Linked DNA regions of Homo sapiens: regions 1, 2, 4, 5, 6 and 7 are each linked to region 3. Evidence: promoter capture Hi-C in 16 types of primary human blood cells and fetal thymus (Javierre and others, 2016). All regions are on one chromosome and are shown on one strand. The core of a region is centred on a gene start or on the middle of the fragment in contact, and the rest is flanking DNA. Distances in the headings are between cores, read along the strand shown. Region 1 has its middle 160 kb from the start of HLX-AS1. Region 2 overlaps LOC101929750 (a long non-coding RNA gene). Region 3 holds the start of HLX (H2.0 like homeobox). Region 4 has its middle 140 kb from the start of HLX-AS1. Region 5 overlaps LOC101929750 (a long non-coding RNA gene). Region 6 overlaps LOC101929750 (a long non-coding RNA gene). Region 7 has its middle 220 kb from the start of LINC02817.

Region 1 (2,727 bases), core at 172-2,671, 160 kb after region 3:
ATATATACATAAATGAAACAATAACATGTCAACGTAGAAATGGAAAATTTAGAAAACGGAACAAGCAAAAAATCAAAATCATTTATATTACCACAACTTAAAAGAATCCAGTTAACGTTTTGCTAAATATCAATATTTCTTAAACAAAATGGGATCATGCATATAGGTTGGCTGGCATAATTATTCACATTTGAGGCAGGCATGGTGTGTCATGAAAGAACAGAGGAGGGGAGGGACAACACAATAGGCATGGTTAAACACATTTTATTTTATACTAAATTTCAACTTTTTCATTTTTTTCTCCTCTACATATCATCTTTCCCACTTATCCATTTTTCTCCTTCCATCAATCCATGATTTCTTTAATTTTCTTTTTTAAATAAAAGGAACATAGTCTATTAATAGACAACAACCAAACAACAAGATCCACTAGCCAAAAGAAAGTAGACATTAGCTAATTAGTCAATTCATGTGGCCTAAGTGGCAGCCAGTTAACTCCAATGGTTAAATCTCAGAAGCCGACCTTTCTCATGAATATTTGTAACATTCACACAAAGACAATTGCTTTAGCTCCAGCTTGCAGTCCCACAGTTGTGTGTTGTTGGTCACAGGGAGACCTAGCAAGAGAATGGGGATGACTCATTGTAATGCACCAACACTCTCAGCAGATGCTCTCCAAAATGAGCTGGGAGCATGATCATACCATGAAAGATAATGAAGCACATTTCAGTTGAATTCTGGCCAGTGCAGGTCTTACACATCTCTTTGATAACTGAATGATCTAATTAAACTCTTTATAGACATTAAATAAACCCAATAATTGCCAATTACCTCTTCCTAGCAATGTTCCCTAGAACTAGAGTTTTATTTTTTGATATAATACCATATCTAAATAAATGCTTGCCAATGTTTTGATAAGAAATGATGTATAAATTAGCTGGCTTTCTTGTCATCATGTAATATAAGCAAGGCAAACTTCTTGTTTCCTTGATGGAACATTGCTCAGGATGGAAACTGTTATCATTGTCAGATGCAGTGTCAGTAGCAATTGGTGAATTTAGACTGCGTTTCCCTATCACTATCTCAGTGAAATAAGACATGTTTCTGAGAGATAAGGGATAATGGAGCTGTTGCTAATGCTTGAGTGGACCTAAGGCATTTGTGAATGAATAATTTTAATATGGAGAATAAAGGTATCCTGAGAATAGGAAAAAGAGGATAATCAGTTCCCTTCTGGATCAGATTGCCAGATTTAGCAAACAAAAATACAGAACTCCTGCAATATTTGAGACATGTTTATACTAAAATAATCACTTACCATTTATCTGAAATATAAATTTAACTGGGTGTCCTATATTGTATCTGATAACTTTACTTCTAGGGGATTAATTGGATCAGCACACTGGTAGGGACATGAAATAATTTGCAATTCTCTGGGGCCTTCCAGTTCAAGTAAGCAAAACTGTTTCCCAGCTTCCTCAGCTGTTCTTTATAAATCAGCATTTTTTTCCCTCAAGTGTGTACTTCATCTTTCTTTCTGGATTTTTCTGACTTCAGGGCAGAAGGGATGTTGGGGAGCTACATGCTGGAGAAAGTTTTTTCTGAGGAAAAATGAAATCACCACCTAAATCCCCTGAGTGGAGTGATTCTGGAAAGAGGGAGTGAAAGGAATGAGGTGGAGGTTGAGACAGTTCAGGGATGGCCAGAGGCAGTTTTGGATGGGAATTCTGGCGCAACTCACATCTTCTGGACTTGAAAGGTCATATCCGGAAGTCACAGTGCTCCTAGGAGAGGTTTTTCAACAAGGTTGGAGTACACTGGAGGCTACACACACAATCTGAGCCAAGAAACAAAGTTCACCCAAGAATGCCAGTGGTGATGTTTCCTCTACACTCTTGGCTAGGTGTGGACCTTGCTCAAATTCCAGGGGAGTGTTGGGTGAATGTGATCATCAGGATGTGGACTCTCATGCTGTGACAGCTAGAGTCTTGTGCCTCTTATTTGTCAGGGTGAATGGGACTGGTTAAATCTTAGCCAATGGGAATTTTTCTTCCTGACAAACAGGTCCATAATAGGGCTGACTTTTCCCAATAGAGGGAAACTACAGCATGGAACTAGGTTAAAAGATTTTGCTGTGAATGAGAAAACCTATTTGTTTTCTTTGCAACTAATTTTGCTATCTTTCCCTATACTAATTTTTAAAATTAATAAATGTTTTTTACTTATTTAATGGGTTAAATAACTCAAAGAGGTAAAAAGTTTTAATATTTTCCTCAGCTACTTCCTACTTAGAACCTGTTTTTCTAAAGTCCTAATATTACCAGCTTCTTTTTTTTTTTTTTTTTTTTTTTTTTTTGTGAGACGGAGTCTTGCTCTGTGGCCCAGGCTGGAGTGCAGTGGCTCAATCTCAGCTCACTGCAAGCTCGGCCTCCCGGGTTCACGCCATTCTCCTGCCTCAGCCTCCCAAGTAGCTGGGACTATAGGTGCCCGCCACCATGCCCAGCTAATTTTTTGTATTTTTAGTAGAGACGGGGTTTCACTGTGTTAGCCAAGATGGTCTCGATCTCTTGACCTCGTGATCTGCCCGCCTCAGCCTCCCAAAGTGCTGGGATTATAGGCATGAGCCACAGCACCTGGCCTTTACCAGCTTCTTAAACAGATGTTTGTTGACTTACAACACGGCTACCTCTTGATAAACTCACTGTAAACTCAAAATACCCAAAGTCA
Region 2 (2,700 bases), core at 184-2,683, 200 kb after region 3:
TGTGTGTGGTAGCATTCATAGTATCTATCTACATCAATTTTTTAGAAAACAGAATAGGTGATCTCACACCCTTTAATTTTATAAACTCTTGATTAAAACAGGGCATCCTGTCTCACCTTGGAATAAAGATCCAAAATTAGATGATATTCATTTTGAACTCTACCTAAGAGGCATGAAACTTACAAAAAGATGTCCTCAACACTTCTCAGTTGACAGAGACTGTTTTGTATTCATGTGGTTTATGTCTGTTTGTACAGTAATTAGGCTTTGATCTTTTGGGGTGAAGCTGCAGGCACACAAACACACATAGATACATGCACACACAGTCCCACACTGTGGGATAAAGGAACATACCAGAGTTTATGAGCATCGGGATTTAATTCTGGGAAATCTTGTCTTTTGGCATCTGCCAATATATCCTCTGGAATTTATTATGTGCCCGCAATATCTCTCCAACCAACCATTCTTCCCTATATCCACAGTCACTAGCTTAATATCAGCCCTTGTCATCTCACACCTGTATTATAAAAATAGCTTAGTCCCTTGTCTCTCTGGCTCCAATTGTCCCTAATTTCAACCCACACCTTTGGATGATGGAATTAGACTCTAAGACATTATTCTTATCATGTCACCTCCTTCTCCACCTCTGCTAAAGAACTCAATCATATATCCATGGAAAATAAATTGTTGTCCATGTATCATATTTCCAGATCCTTGGGGCAGGGGAAGGCGATCCAAGCATATCTGATCTCTCTCTCTCTCTGTCACACACACACACACACACACACACCCCTATGTAAAGAACTTGAAAATAACTTTAAGATTGTAAGGTATTCTTTGCTAACTTTCCTAAAACAGTTGCTTCAAAACCTAACTAATAAGCTAGGAAACTTTAAAAAATATGTAGACTCCTGTTAGAATCCAGGATAGTGGCTATCCTTTCTGCTGTTAATGTTCTATGGCGCTATTTTTGGATCTGGGTGCTGGATGCACGGGAATATTCCTCTTTCATTTATTTTACATTAATTTCTTTACTTTTCCTGAAACACTTCAAAATGTTCTTGTTTCTGTTGACTTATTCAAGATGTACTTACTGTGATCGTTGTAGATTGCTTCCGAATACACCCTTTGTAGCTCTATTCTTATGCACAGTGGACCCTAGATTCATTTTTAACAAATGGAATTATTTTGTCTTTTTTCTCCACCTCTTAGTGAATGGATGAGGAAAGGAAGGCATGGAAAGTGGACTGGCATGGCTATGAGTTAGAAGCAGTCAGAGTTCAGTTCAGAAACCTCTGAATTCAAGGCCAAGGCTCTGGGGACGAGGTTTTCCCCCAACATCAGTAAGCTTTGGAAACTTTTTAAAAAGTGGAAGAAAAAGTGATACCTAATACAGTGCTGTCCACATGATATGCAACCAATACATATTCAATAAATGAGTAAATATGAAAGAACAAATTTAAATGATGTCAACATATTATCTCCAACAGTTAAGAATCTTACACTTAGTTCCCTGCATAAAGCTTCCTGCATAGTCTTCAGTTTTGTTAACTAAAAGGTGTGACCTGATAATATTATTGGTTCAAGTGATAACTGCTTTGTACCAACTAACTGGTTTTTCAACAGATTTGTTATTACTGTGCATAAGTGTTGGAAACAGTTTGTTCATAGGAGTCTGTTTTTTTTTTCTGGAGTCTTAGGAAAGTGGCTGGTTTTACTCTGAAACATCATAACTTTGCAATCAGGAACCAGGTACAAAATGAGTAACTGTTAGCGAAAACAACCAGAAGCCACATTTTTAGCTATCTCTGTCATGTAGCTACAAATAAGAAATACCATTCCACCAACTTTGTGTCAGGTGCCTTTTTATATAATATGAAGAGTACTGTTTAAGTTCAGGGGAGAGCTAAATACTGGGGTCCCTGTTATGAAGGAACTCAAGAAGCCTTGATGAATGTATAGTGAATGATGAGTAACATGTTGGTCTAAGGTAGCCAGAGACAAGAAAGACCATCTCTGCCTGGAAAGGGCAGGCCAGCTTCATGGGGAAGATGATACTTGAAATGGATCTTGAAGGATGGTGATGCATTTAATGGGGTGCTTGGAACAAAAACAAAGGCAAGGATGTGAAAACATGCAGGGTGATTTTGGTGGAGAGTTTTGCTGGAGAAAAGCACTCAAATGGGGTCGTCAAGGTAGATAAACCTGATAAGGGAGTTAGTTTGCAGATTGTTGCGGGCGTGAAGTGCTAGGCCAAAAGTTAGGAAGTTCTTGAAGTGTCTAGGTGTGAAACAATGACGGTCTGAATGAAGATGTAGCCATGAAAATCAAAAAACATTTATTCATTTTAGAGGCATTGATTTCTACAAATTTCACTGAATTGGTAATTCCAACGTAGGAGGCAAGGGAGATAAAGTATCAAAGATGACTAGATGCTGAGGCTGGGTAACCAGTGCAATCAAGATGCCATTAACAAAAAACCCTTGTTTTTTTTGTTTGTTTTCTTGTTTTTTTTTTGTTTGTTTGTTTGTTTTTTTTACGGTCACAGTTCTAGGAATAGTAATCTATATTTGCTGTCATCTCTTTCATCTCAAATCACTTTTGATCCATTGGCATCTGTCTTGTGTCTATCTCATTGACACTTATCCAAGTCACCAATGACTTCCAACATGCCAAGTTTAATGGGGTGTTTCCATTTTT
Region 3 (2,700 bases), core at 114-2,613:
GAGATAGGCATGGCAAGTTCACTTGCTTTTCTGGGTTTATTTGGTGAGGAGCCTTCGTGCTGAAGGGAAATAAAAATGTCACAGAATCCCTGTTAGGAGATGCTTATTAGGGCAATCGAAAACAAAAGTTTTCGTGGTTTCATTATTCGTATTATTTTATTTTCTTCCTGAAAATGTGCAAGAACAGCTCATCTGGGTGGCCTGTGGTTTGTTTGGGAGAGGGGTGGGGAAATTCATTCTGACTATAATTTAAAGAGAAGAAATTCTTAAAATAGATATGTCGATGTTGCACAAAACCTCCACCACCACTACCCTGCGTTCTAAAGACCCAAGGCACGAATGGAAGACGTTGACCACCACGCAGCTCCTCCTGCAACCAGGCCCAAGGGGTTCCTGGGGAAGCTGTCACAGAATTGAAAGCAGTATTGAACCCCACGGAAATCTGCTCTTGTGGGCACTTGCAAAACAACGAACCCCACGTGATCCGGAGATGTGGTGGAGGGGTGAGGCTAACATTTCCTACAACCTCCTGCAAAGGATGGAAGCGCGTGCCGCTCTCCCGGGTTTCGGGAGGCAGCCTGTTTTGTAGCCTCTGAGGCTCCGGGGAAAGGTTTGGCTGCGTCTAAGAGAGACGTTTGGAGCCATCCGTCTTATTTTGTTTGAAAAGTCACTCGTTCAATTTGTCACTGTGTGACAGCTCAGAATAAAACCAATTTGCGGCCGCCCCTCCTCCTCGCTTCCCGGAGGATCTCCTGGGAGGCACGAGGCGGACGCGGTGCTGAGTTGGGCCGGGACTCAGGGCGGCAACATTTGGGCAAGGGCCCAGGAAAGATGAGGGGCTTTGCCGAGGACACGGACTCCTGGAATAAAAGCAGAATGAGGTCAAGAGAAGGGAAGCAAAGGGGCCAAAGCGCGCTCCGCTCTCCACCGGGAGGCGGGCTTTGCAGAGCCCTAAAGAGTGAGATTACCGTCCCTTCCCCACGCCCCCAACTCGCCCCGGGTGACAAGCGCTTCAGGAAAGCTCCTGTGATCAACCCTCCTTGCCCCGTGGCGGTTCGGAGCTGCAGAAGTTAGAAGAGAGTCAGAGCCCTCCGGAGCGGCTGCCTGGCCCCTACGCAGAGTAGCAAGAAGCACTGCGATGTGCGCTACTAAGCCCACGCGGCCGCAGCAAAAACTTTGGCGTGGCCGGGGCGTGGCTAGGGTCCGGCCAGGCCCCCTTGTTCCTAATTCCCCTCCACTCCCCGCTCCCATTGGTCACGAGGATGACCAATGAGCGCTCGGATCGAGGTCCTACCCCGGGCCTGACTCGAAAGCTCCTGCCAAAACTTTGGGAGTTTTTAGAGACGAGTTTTTTTTTTTTTCTATTACTTTTCCCCCCCCCTAACTAACGGACTATTATTGTTGTTGTTTTAAATTTAGCTCTTAGGGCTTAGCTATTTGGGTTTTCTTGCGGTGTCCGGCTCCCGTCTCCCTGGCTCCCCCGCCCGCCCTGCGGCCCCAGCGCCCCTCGCTCTCATCCAGCCCGCGAGGAGTGCGGGCGCCGCGCCGCCTTTAAAGCGAGGCCAGGGAGCGAGGCGGTGACCGGCCGAGATCCGGCCCTCGCCTCCTCCCTCGGTGGCGCTAGGGCTCCCGGCCTCTCTTCCTCAGTGCGGGCGGAGAAGCGAAAGCGGATCGTCCTCGGCTGCCGCCGCCTTCTCCGGGACTCGCGCGCCCCTCCCCGCGCGCCCACCCACCCAGTCCGGCTGGACTGCGGCAGCCGCGCGGCTCACCCCGGCAGGATGTTCGCAGCCGGGCTGGCTCCCTTCTACGCCTCCAACTTCAGCCTCTGGTCGGCCGCTTACTGCTCCTCGGCCGGCCCAGGCGGCTGCTCCTTCCCCTTGGACCCCGCCGCCGTCAAAAAGCCCTCCTTCTGCATCGCAGACATTCTGCACGCCGGCGTGGGGGATCTGGGGGCGGCCCCGGAGGGCCTGGCAGGGGCCTCGGCCGCCGCCCTCACCGCGCACTTGGGCTCGGTTCACCCGCACGCCTCTTTCCAAGCGGCGGCCAGATCCCCGCTTCGACCCACCCCAGTGGTGGCGCCCTCCGAAGTCCCGGCTGGCTTCCCGCAGCGGCTGTCTCCGCTCTCAGCCGCCTACCACCACCATCACCCGCAACAACAACAGCAGCAGCAACAGCCGCAGCAGCAACAGCCTCCGCCTCCGCCCCGGGCTGGCGCCCTGCAGCCCCCGGCCTCGGGGACGCGAGTGGTTCCGAACCCCCACCACAGTGGCTCTGCCCCGGCCCCCTCCAGCAAAGACCTCAAATTTGGAATTGACCGCATTTTATCTGCAGAATTTGACCCAAAAGTCAAAGAAGGCAACACGCTGAGAGGTAGGTCTTGGGCGGGAGGCTGCAGGCCTCTGACCACTGACCCACTCCCCGGACCCCGGGCTGGCTTGGGGTGCCTTTGAGTGTTTTTACAATTAAGGACAAATCGGTAAAACGGGAGAGAAGAAAACGAATTGTAAGAAAACTACAAAACATTAGGTCTAAAACTCACCTGTTCTATGTAAAACAAACAAAAAATGACTCCAGGGATTCTTTAAAAACACGTCTTAGAATCAATATTTATAAAAGTGGTTGGTGTAATTATCTGCTAACATGACTTTGATCTCTTTAATAATGTATCTAGAGACAGAATTATATTTTCTGACAGCTAAA
Region 4 (2,700 bases), core at 118-2,617, 140 kb after region 3:
GCAACGAGAGGAAGTAAGTATATAGTATAAAGCTCTTCTGTTGAATTACATATAATGGGCATACATCTGAGTCTATGAGCTCATATGGGCAAGATATTTACTTTTTTATTTCCTCACATCAAGGCACCCAACTTACCTGACTGGTAGAAATTTTATCTTGGTCACTTGTTGGGCCAATTTGTTTTTTCTTGGAGGGTACCAGAATCTGAGAGGCTATGTGAGGCCAAGGAGATGGATAAAAGGCCTCCCATCTCCAGGATTCCATGTTCACATTGACATTGACATTCTTATGGTCAAACCAGTGAGTATTCTTGATATATGGCTGCTCTCTGCTTTTATGCTGGGTGTGAGGCTCAAGTATTTCTGTAAGCCTGGGATCCTGAGAGTCCAGGTGTCCTTCTCCAAGAAGTTCTACTAAATATCCTGGCAAGGCCTTGCTACTTCCCCACGCACCACTGCAGAGAGCAAAGTGATCCACACTGGTCCCAGACCCTGCAGACCTTTTTTCTTCCCAGAAGAAAAGATGACTTCCCAGAAGTCATCCTGGCAGGATGACTCTAGGACTCAAAAGATTTTCCATCCCTGGACCCCTCTGGACATGTAGAATGACCTCAGCCTTCTGGGCATTTCTGCTCTTGGTTTTGCTGTTCAGTCTACTAAAGTCACTGAATGAAGGCAGCCCAAAGGTATATCCACCTGTTGAAATGGGGGCAAGTGATTGTGACAAGAGCAGAAATACAGGGAGAACAATAACACATTCACAAAAACTTTGCTCTGGATGGGTAGAGATGTTAAGACCAAGAGAACATGGCAACAAAAGTGGCTTGAATTGGGAAATTCAGGTAAGTCCTATTTCCCCCTGTTGACTCAAGAACTCTGTTGACTGGAGAACTCTGTGTACCCAGTAGAACAGTTCATGTAACATAAGCATCAAAATAATCAAGGGCTGAAGAATAAATAAAAGACGGGCCCCCAAACTCTCCAGTGAAGAAAAAAAGATATAAAAAGCAGTAAAATGAAGATCTGTTTTCTTTTTTTGTGGGCCATATCATCTTAATAAGTCCCATTGTCTGATTTATTGGTCCCATCACTAGAGAATCCAAAGCTTCTTTGACCTCCTAGGTGATTTTCAAGTTATAGCCACAGCCCTGATTCTAAAATCTTAGGTAAAAGGTACATATAGACTTGTCCCAGTTATTACAAATGAATATGGTGCATATACCTTACATTATAAAATACCCACTTTGTATTTCTTAAGCAAAATTCATGAAGACTTTCATGAAATGAAATAAATACTATAAGAAATGTCACGTCTTTTCAGGTCAGTTTTTGCTTTCATATATATTGAAATCAGGTGAGATTTTATGGCCAAACAGCTACAAAAAACTTTCACTATTCAGGTCTTTTGCATTTTGGAATTACAGATAAGAGATTGTAGATCTTAAGTGAGAGTCAAAAGTTGTTCATACCTAAGCAAGAAGAGAGAGAATGAGATATTCTCTGTGTATAAGCTGCCCACACCTCTTTGGCTGTGTGGGAGCATAAATATTATTCTCCTTTTTATGCTGTAGTATTAGCTGTATTGGGAAATAAGTAAGTTTTGGCATAATGTCAGTTAAGTGATATTAGGAAGCTTTACAACAAACTGGAAAGCTTCAGTGTTTCTCAGTCCATTCATTCAACAATGATTGAGCACCCACTGCATATCACGAACCAACCTAAGTGTTAGGGAAGACAGCTTGTGCCTTCATGGTGTTCCCCATATTGTGGGGGAGTAAGTGCACAATGATACTGTGGCAAGTGTTAAAATAGGGGAAGGCATAAGACGCTTTGGGACAATAAAAAGAGCAGCCAACTTAGACAGAGGGGAATGATGGTGGGCTTCTTTGAAAGAAGGAGGAGATGGCCCTGAGCAGAGTCTTGAGTAATCCCTAGGCATTACACATGAACAGAAACAAAAAGAAGGGGTGATGGGTGAAGGGATGTTCCAGACAGCTGGAGACATATGTGAAAATGTGAAAAGACAGCATTAGAGAATGCACGTTTGGGAGAGAGGGGGACCAGGGATGATGGAAGAGAGGGGCCAGATGCCAAACCATGAAGGATGACTTTGATAATCAGGACTATCTACATCAGTGGATCATCAATGAAAAGCTTTCCAGCCCAAACAGGGTGATGAGAGCATCTGTCCATGAACTACTGCCCAGAGCTCATCTGGTAGCTCTAAAGATCTACTATTCATGTCAGAAACAAGAGATTAGGCACTGCTCTCTTGTAAGCACTGAGGAGGATAAAGAACCATGGAACACTGTGGGAAGAAATAGTTTGAGGCCCACGCTTGGAGAATCTTTTATGTTGCGTGTGGGGCTCAAGTATTTCTGTAAGTCCTCGGGGCATCTGCAACAGCCCAACCACTGCCACCAGTCCTTTCCTAGGGAAAAGAGAAGACTTTACACTGCTTCCGACAGAGAGATCTAGTTGGGTAACAGGGTTTCCTCGTGGTTGTGGGGGCTTCCTCAGGACTAGAAAGGAGGATATACTGGAAAAGGATTGTCAGTCAAAGCCATGGCAAGCTTGAGGGCACAGACGTGTGGCAGGCTTGTACAAAAGGAACAGGGAACTGGAGGCAGAGCAAGCTCTGGGCAATTTCAAACTTTGCTCTCCTCTCCCCGATTCTCTCCCCTTTTCTTTGGGTTGTTG
Region 5 (2,821 bases), core at 233-2,732, 180 kb after region 3:
AGCAACTTGGAGACTATTATTCTAAGGGAAGTAACTCAGGAATGGAAAACCAAACATTGTATGTTCTCACTCATAAGTGGGAGATAAGCTATGAAGATGCAAAGGCATAAGAAGGATACAATGGACTTTGGGGACTCAGGCGAAAGGGTGGGAGGGGTGAGGGATAAAAGAATACAAACTGGATTCAGTGTATACTGCTCAGGTGCACCAAAATCTCACAAATCACCACTAAAGTTCTTACTCATGTAATAAAATACCACTTGTTCCCCAAAAACCTATGGAAATAAAAAATTAAAAAAAAATAACCTCACCTAAAATGGACTTCTGTTTTCGGGAATATGAAATAGATATACTCTTCCCAGATCGCACCACTGCACTCCAGCCTGGGTGACAGAGCGAGACTCCATCTCCAAAAGCAAAACAAAACAAAACAAAACAAAAACCCTGAACAAAATATGTAACACAAACAAAAGAAGACTCTAAAGGTCAAGAGAAGAAGGCAGAACTAGGGAACTTGGAACCCAAGAAACAACACTGTGGAAAGTTCCCTGGGTTTTCTTTTGGCCTCACGTATCTGAGACTTGAAACTAACAAAGCCAGCAACCTGGAAATGCCAATAGGAGCAGACAAAAATGTCCCTTCCAAAAGCCTACTTTCTCTAGCCAAAGGCCAGCCAATAGGCAGCCTAGCAAGATAGAAAACTTTGACAATAACTGCTGTACTCCAGCCAATGCTACAGAAAAATACAGCGGCTCCAACCTCACTCCCACCAGCAAAGGCCAAGTGGGGAGCATAGATTTGCTCCCTTCAGAGGGATAGTGAAGTGTTGTATGCCACCTCCACTGGGGTGATGTCAGAAAAATCTGAGCAGGGAGCTGGGAGTTTCATCCACACTGAGTATTCCCTCTGCCTCCTTTTTCCTCTACTTTTGATGTCAGTGGAGACTACATGGGGATTCTAGACTTCCACCCACAGCCACTGGTGCAGTAGTGTCAGAAAAAGCTTAGTGGAGAGTCAGGACTTTTACCACCACTTGTGGCCACCCTGCTCCCTTGGTATTAGAGGAGCTCAGGTGGGGAGAAGCAGCTCCTACCTCTGTCCAGCGGTAACAAGTGGCATCCCCCACCCCAATGTGGCAATGGAAGCTAAGTGACAACCTGGACTTTTACCTTCATTGGCTAGGAATGAGGTGGCACCCTACTTTCCCTGCCAGGACTGTGTCAGAAGAAAACAGCTAAAACAGAAGGTTTAAATAACATCTTGAGTCTTTTAATACCCAAACTGTCCATGTTTCAAATGAAAATCACTTCTTAAACCAAGAACCAGGAAGATCTGAAACTGAATGAAGATAGACAATCAATAGTTGCCAACACTAAGCTGATAGAGATATTAGAATGATCAAGAATTTTATAGCAGCTGTCCTAAGATGCCTCAACAAGCAATTAAAAACATTACAGAATATACTAAAATTACAAATTGTAAAAACAGAAAACTTTAATAAATAGAAAGTCTCAAGAAAGAAAGAGAAAATATAAAGAATAATTCAATGAGAAATTTTGGAACTGAAAAATATAACAATCAATATAAGAAACACAATGGACAGGCTAAAGAGCAGTATGGAGGGAACAGAGAAAAGAATCAGGTAACTGGAAGACAGAACAACAGATATTACTCAATTAGAACAATGTAGAGAAAATAATAACTGAAAAAAAAGGACAGAGCCTTAGGGACCTGGGAGAATATAATAGAAGATATAATGTGTAATCAGAGACCTAGAAAGAGAGAAGAAAGAGATAGGACTAAAGAAGCACTTTAAGAAATAATGACTGAAAATGTTCCCAATTTGGCAGAAGATGTAAACCTACAAATTTGAGAAGCTGGGTAAACTCCAAGGAAGATAAATCCAAAGACATCCATATGAAGACACAATAGAGTCAAACTTGAAATCTAAAGACAATTTTAAAAAGCTTCAAAGTGCTTAGTGACAGAAAAATAACACCTTACTTGCAGGGCAAAAAATAATTTGAATGACAACATATTTCTCACCAGGAACTATAGATCCCAGAAGGAAGTGGTGCAACATTTTTCAAGTGCTGAAAGAAAATAACTGTTAACCTAGAATTCCTATACTTAGTCAAAGTATCCTTCAGGAATCAATGGGAAATCAAAGCCTTCTCAGATGAAGAAAAACTAAGAATCTGTCACCAGCAGATCTGCTTTAAAAGAACAGCTGAAGGAAGCTCTCTACATGGAAAAGAAATGCCGAAAGAAGAACCCTTAGAACATCAGGAAGAAAGAACATGGTCAGTAAAAATACGGATACAATATAACTGACTTCCCTTCTCTTAAGTTTAATTAAAAAAAAAAAACACATGAAATAAACAAACCAAAGACACTTAACATGAAACAATATTTTGAAGCAACTATCATATACAGATAAATGTGGACAGCATTTTTTCTCCATTAAAAATACATAGTTAATGGAATGTGTACTTACCATGTAACTCAAAATGAGAATTTGGCCTTCAAAATAACTATTAGAGAGGAAATTAATCCTAAAAAGATATGGTTAGAAACCATTCTGAAATTTTGTCAAAAGTTTCTTCCTTTCCTGTCTGCTTACTTGCATAATGTATGATGAAGGGATTGGACTTGATTGTCTCAAAGGTCTGTTCAGTTGAGCTCATGGCACTCTTGAATTTTTTTGGCTAAATTTCTGAAAGATCCACAAAATTGCAAAACCTTTAAAAATACTTTATTGTACATAAAATCACATCTTTGATGAATGAGGTGGTTTACTTTATGAAAGAATTTTAAAGAG
Region 6 (2,700 bases), core at 155-2,654, 220 kb after region 3:
AATTGTCAGAGGACTGATGGCCTCAGCTCTGGTCCTGGCTCCTTCCTTTCCGGGTAATCCCGCCACCACAGGTGGGCGTTTCACTTATTACTCCTTTCTCACCTGCCTGTGGTGAAAGCGATGCCTGCCCTAGAGGATGCTGGGAGGAGTAATGCAGAGGTGGCTGTGAAAGGCCACACAATACTCGGGTCCTGATGAGCAGCATCACTTCTGTGATGGCTGTCATTTTCTCTGTTCAGCCGTTTTCAAGAGTGTTAAGAAATAGCGGGGCTCTGTCCCAAGATTCCCCTTTCTTTGTAAAGCCTAAGAAAGCAGATGCTCCGGATAAGCAGAGAAAACTCAGCATTTCTGAGGGTTTGTGGGTTTGAGTCAACATTATGCTATCACCTTTTAGTGCACTTAATAATTAAGCTTACAGTAGGTAGCAGACAATGGCATCGAGCTGGGTGTGGCTTCAGAGCCAGCCGAGTCCTTTCTTGAAGCTCTACAAAAGCCTCTATGATATTTCTCCCCACCTTGGAAATTTTTAAATAGTTTAAACATTTAAGCAGATTTTAATGTTTTTTATTTAAAAAATGGAAGGAATAAAAAGGCCACAGTAGAATCTTCAGGAAAGACAGTGGTTGCAGTTCTGTACATGTGAAAGTCAAAAAGTGGCTAAGAAAAAGATGCTCCGCCTGCCACTACTAAAAAGAAAAAACGTTTGCCATAAGCCACCATGACTCAGAGTTCACAGATGGGAAGAAACAGATAAATTAGAGCAAAGTTCCTGAAAATGTTCTGTGACTGATACTGCTTCCTGTAAGTGACTGGAAAGAGCTAGTGCTGATTTGAGTAGACATTGGTTCTTCTAGAAGAGCCAGAAGGTTTCACATGGATTTTTTTAATGTTGGAAAAACCAGGCAGGAGAACAAAAAAAGGAGAAAAATTCTTTCCCCCCTTCTTTTAATATCGTTTTCAGTAGCACAATGCATTTAAAGTAAGGCACAGTTTCCTCAGAGTAATATGGCCTCAGGACATGATTTAGATGGAAAATTTAAGTAAGATTAATGCAATTTATTATCCAACAGGATATCCCTACAAGCCACACTATTTGGCTGAATTTTAGATTCCCAATCTAATATTTCAGATGAGATTTCCAGATGGGTGTCTTATTCCTCTATTAGTTTAGTCAGGGTGATATAGAGTTTGTAAAACAGGAGAGGTTAAACTAGTTTTAACACTTGATTAATCATTGAAATTACTTTGTTACTGTTTGAATTCACTGACTTTTGTTTATTAAGTAACTCCCTAAGACCCAAAGCCAACACAAACTAGAGGCACCTTTCCAGCTTTGCTAATTTATTTGATGACTTCTTCAAAGGAAATTTTTTAAAAAGTAGTAAATTTATGGTTACATTGAAAGGCTGCTCAATGCTTGCCCTTTGCCTTGCTAAAAAGTAAAGTGTGGGTTTATAAGACTGGGGGAAAATGTACACACACACACGTGTACACGCACACACACACACACACACACCCCATATTCCAATTTCCTGGAACATTACGGGGCAGATAAATCTTTAAAACAAATTGGATAAATAATTATCAGAACCTTTGCCACTTCTATCAAGAAACAGACAGATAATATAGAAACCGTCTGAGGTGACAAACCACACATATATTCTGCCATTTTATAATCTGCTAGCAGGTCTATTAAGGGAGGTAGATTCTAGTGCACCTGGCAAGGCTGCTTTGAATGATGGGATGAGCTGAGTGAAAGGGCCATAGACAGCAAGACTCAGTGCTTAGCGTGGAGTGAAGGGGGAGGAGGGCTGATTCCAATATGGGACAAAGCTCCAAACCAGAAATTTTTTTTGGGATATGAAAATTTCCTGAAGTCTGGGTTTGTTAAATTGATTACAATCTCTTTTCAGAGACCTATCAGGAGCAAACTAGTGAGTTGCAGACATAAATTTGAATTCCAGAGTCTCCTACTAACCCAACTCATAAATGAATTCCTAAATGCTGACTGAGCCAGAAGACCCAGCATTGGAAAACCACTTGGCAGGAATCATTAGTTTCAAAATGAGATGAACTGCTCTATTTAGCCCTCATTCAAAACTTTACAGAAATGCCAGATTTCCATAAACACAGGTTTCCTTGAATTTCCAGGGCTCTGATTAACTGGTGGATGAGGGTGCCTCACAAATACAGATTTGTATGCAATATTCAGCTTGGAGGAGATTGGAGGTTGGAAACCAACACAAAGTATTCCTTCTCCTTTCTAATGTTAACTCTTCCTTGTTTTTCAGAAGACTTTTTTTGTTGTTGTTATAAGGAGTTTGGACAATTAAGAATTAGTCTATGGTTTAAAGACATAGTTATAGATCATATTCTTGTCATTTATGTCATCATCTGTTAAGCTTTTTATGACTGATTGACAACCCACTGCTTTATAGTGTGGCTTTATTGCCCCAAAGGAATGAGAGAATTGAAAAATACACTTCTGTCTCTGCTGAAAAAGTCATAAAGTTGTGGCTTCTGCTAAGTAAAGAGATTGCTTGCAAAGAGATATTTTCTTTTTTAAATGTGTTTTCATTTTTTTTCTTTCTGCCATTTTTCTTCATTGATACTGGCACATTAGATAGAGTACCTAACATTGGCACAACATAGATCTATAGAGTTAAAACTTTTGGTGGTTGCATATTTTCGGCTTCCATG
Region 7 (2,724 bases), core at 10-2,509, 240 kb after region 3:
AGAAAAAGCCTGTGGCTAATAGAGTTGTCAGTGTGTAGTGTACTACTTCCTAATGAAAGAACTGGAAGAAACTGAGCAAGTCCTCTTGCCTCTGCCTTTGCACCCTCTGCTCCAGTCCACACTGAAAATATCCTCAGTGATGTTACAAGTGTTGAGAATGTGAAGTTAAATGATCTAAACGGCTCACTCAGTGGAGAGCCATCTACTTATGTCTTTTTCATCGGCCATAATTCCAACTCTTAGAGCTTCAGTTCTATAAATTTTACAAGAATTTTAAGTTTTCAAAGTCATTTACTATCATATTTCTTAAAAGATAATTATTTCTCTTACGTTTCACTTGTCCAAAATTAGGATGCACCTTGAAATCAACTGATATGTATATTTAACCTGGAAGAAGTGTTTTCATTCCCTCTTGTACAGTTAGGAAGCCGATGAAATTAGTTTAACATCAAGGAATAAGGTGAAAGGTAAATAGACCTCTGAGGCAAGGACCTTAAGGTGTGTTATGGTCTGAATTGTGTCCCCCTGCTCTCCAAATTCATATGTTTAAGTTCTAAACCCCAGTACTTGAATATAGGGGCTTTAAGAGGTAAAATGTGGTCATTAGGGTGGGCCCTAATCCAATGTGGCTAGTGTCATTATAAGAAAATAAAATTAGGAAGGACACAGATATGCACAGAGCAAAAAACTGAAGACACAGGGAGAAGATGGCCATCTACAAGCCAAGGAGAGAGGCTCCAGGAAGAAACCAAACTTGTGTCAATCGGCTTGGGCTGTTGTAACAAAATACCACAGTCTGGGTGGCTTATCCAACAGGAATTTATTTCTCACAATTCTGAAGACTGAGAAGACCAAGATCAAGGGACTAGTGAATTCAGTTCTTCAGTGAGGTCTCTCTTCCTGGCTTGCAGATGACCATTCTCCCTGTGTCCTCGTGTGATGGAGACAAAGTTCTAGTGTCTCTCCCTCTTCCTATAAGGGCACTAATCCCGACATGAAGGCTCCACCCTTATTACCTCATACAAAACTAATAATCTCCCATAGGCCCCAATGCCATCTCATTGGAGATTAGGGCTTCAACATATGAATTTTGGAGAGGGAGCACAATTCAGTCCATGGCATACCTTGATCTTGGTCTTCTGCCTCCAACACCGTGAGGAAATAAATTTCTGTTGTTTAACCCACCTAGTTTGTGGTATTTTGTTATGGCAGCCCTAGCAAACTAATAGAAGGTGTTGGTTGCATACTGGAGCAGAATGAGCCTGACAGGCAGTGGGGCCAGTCGGGAGAGACCCATGGGGCTAAGAGGGGACACAGGAGACTGTCGTAATCTGCTCAAGCTGCTATTACAAAATATCTGGGACTGGATAATTTAGAAAGAAGAGAAATTTATTTTCTCATGGTTCTAGGGACCGGGAAGTTCAAGATCAAGGTGCTGGCAGGTTCAGTGTCTCTGAAGGCTACTCTGTGGTTCCAAGATGATGCCTTGATTCTTCACATGACAGAAAGGAAAAAAGCTGAAAAAGGTACATATGAGGCCTTTTTTATAAAAGCCTCCATTCCATTAACTTAGGCTTCACCTTCATGGTTTAATCACCTCCTAAAGACCCTCATCTCTTAATCCTATCATATTGGTGACTACATTTCAATACAGAAATTTGGGAGGAGAGTGAACATTCAAACCTTAGTAGGGACAATAGAAAAATAAGTTCAAAATTATTCGAATGTCAAAGAATGGATTTTTCTCAGATGTCAGATCTGTCTGCAAAGAAGAACATCAGTTCCTTCTCTAACTTCATGGAAGGATGGTGGAATATTGTACCTAGATAACTGTCCTTAGTTTTGTCGTTTTGCTTTGTCATAAAACATCAGCCCTTTCAGGATGCCTGCTCTATTTCCGTAACTTTGTTCTGACTGGTCAGTTTTTCCTTCTCATTTTACCTCATGATGGCTTTTTCTATATAAAGCCAAGAAAATGGGTCAATTCTGTCAAGTCAGTTGGAAAAACAGACCATTTGGATTGGTTGATAATATCCGGGTACAATCTTAGACACTGTCCTGAAAAGAGTCTTTTTTCCATGCCCCCTTCCTTTTGGAGCTAAAGTTTTTTTTCTTCTGAATATTACCTTTTAAGTATTGTCAAAAGATTATTTATAGGATCTCTGAAAAATAGCTTTGGATGCTCTCGGTAGAGGAGATGTGGTAGGGAATCAAATTAGATTGGGTCACAAGGGAAAGTGTCTGTAAGAATATGAATGGGACCCAGGGGAAATAAAAATTAAAGAGAAACCAGACTCGAGCTGCACTTTCTCTATTTTGCCAAGTTAGACTTGAATTATGTCATCATATGTAATTTCAAGGAATGGGCAAACTAGTTTGGATAAAACAAAAGTGATCGGATTTGTTTCCCAAAGTGTAAATTGAATCATAGAGAGAAAATTTTCTTGGATGCAAAATAAACGTCCCTGATATCTTCCCCCCATTATTAATTCTTATGAGCCTTATTAATTTTCATCCTAAATGAGATACAAAATGCTGGAATTACATAAATATTATCATTTCCAGGTTGTGTGCAATTTTCTCACTCTTTGGTATCAATATTATATTTCATGCAACTAAAGGTAAAATTTTTCTCCTTACTTATAGTGCAGGATATATCCCATATGGTATGTCTTGTCTTTTCACCTGCAATTCCATTTCTTCTGTATATCCTAAAGGGAAGTC

What was found. Contacts are between HindIII fragments. The CHiCAGO score rates a contact against its expected background, and 5 or more counts as called.
Region 1: a fragment that was not itself captured here is called in contact with the fragment with the promoter of HLX in region 3 in 1 of 17 cell types (neutrophils); the score reaches 10.1 in neutrophils.
Region 2: a fragment that was not itself captured here is called in contact with the fragment with the promoter of HLX in region 3 in 6 of 17 cell types (neutrophils, monocytes, M1 macrophages and 3 more); the score reaches 7.7 in neutrophils.
Region 4: a fragment that was not itself captured here is called in contact with the fragment with the promoter of HLX in region 3 in 1 of 17 cell types (neutrophils); the score reaches 6.5 in neutrophils.
Region 5: a fragment that was not itself captured here is called in contact with the fragment with the promoter of HLX in region 3 in 2 of 17 cell types (neutrophils and monocytes); the score reaches 7.4 in neutrophils.
Region 6: a fragment that was not itself captured here is called in contact with the fragment with the promoter of HLX in region 3 in 7 of 17 cell types (neutrophils, monocytes, total B cells and 4 more); the score reaches 16.8 in neutrophils.
Region 7: a contact is called between a fragment that was not itself captured here and the fragment with the promoter of HLX in region 3, in 2 of 17 cell types (neutrophils and monocytes). The highest score is 10.0, in neutrophils.

The regions. Positions count from the first base shown.
Region 1 is chr1:221,039,191-221,041,917 of GRCh38, forward strand. No RefSeq gene overlaps it. Among named protein-coding and RNA genes, the nearest start is that of HLX-AS1, 160 kb to the left of the region's middle. The HindIII fragment of the contact is 9,845 bases long and covers 1-2,727 here.
Region 2 is chr1:221,082,745-221,085,444 of GRCh38, forward strand. All of the region lies in intron 5 of LOC101929750 (a long non-coding RNA gene), which reads left to right. Among named protein-coding and RNA genes, the nearest start is that of HLX-AS1, 200 kb to the left of the region's middle. The HindIII fragment of the contact is 175 bases long and covers 1,347-1,521 here.
Region 3 is chr1:220,878,080-220,880,779 of GRCh38, forward strand. It overlaps HLX (H2.0 like homeobox), which reads left to right and starts at 1,364. Exons shown (of 4, transcript NM_021958.4): 1 at 1,364-2,370. The coding sequence starts at 1,779. It overlaps HLX-AS1 (HLX antisense RNA 1), which reads right to left and starts at 2,061. Exons shown (of 3, transcript NR_046901.1): 1 at 1,770-2,061. RefSeq lists a silencer at 921-970 and an enhancer at 2,089-2,697. The HindIII fragment of the contact is 7,579 bases long and covers 1-2,700 here.
Region 4 is chr1:221,019,666-221,022,365 of GRCh38, forward strand. No RefSeq gene overlaps it. Among named protein-coding and RNA genes, the nearest start is that of HLX-AS1, 140 kb to the left of the region's middle. The HindIII fragment of the contact is 528 bases long and covers 1,104-1,631 here.
Region 5 is chr1:221,061,793-221,064,613 of GRCh38, forward strand. All of the region lies in intron 2 of LOC101929750 (a long non-coding RNA gene), which reads left to right. Among named protein-coding and RNA genes, the nearest start is that of HLX-AS1, 180 kb to the left of the region's middle. The HindIII fragment of the contact is 965 bases long and covers 1,001-1,965 here.
Region 6 is chr1:221,099,983-221,102,682 of GRCh38, forward strand. The region is part of intron 5 of LOC101929750 (a long non-coding RNA gene); the gene reads left to right. Among named protein-coding and RNA genes, the nearest start is that of HLX-AS1, 220 kb to the left of the region's middle. The HindIII fragment of the contact is 1,991 bases long and covers 410-2,400 here.
Region 7 is chr1:221,119,210-221,121,933 of GRCh38, forward strand. No RefSeq gene overlaps it. Among named protein-coding and RNA genes, the nearest start is that of LINC02817, 220 kb to the right of the region's middle. The HindIII fragment of the contact is 3,557 bases long and covers 1-2,724 here.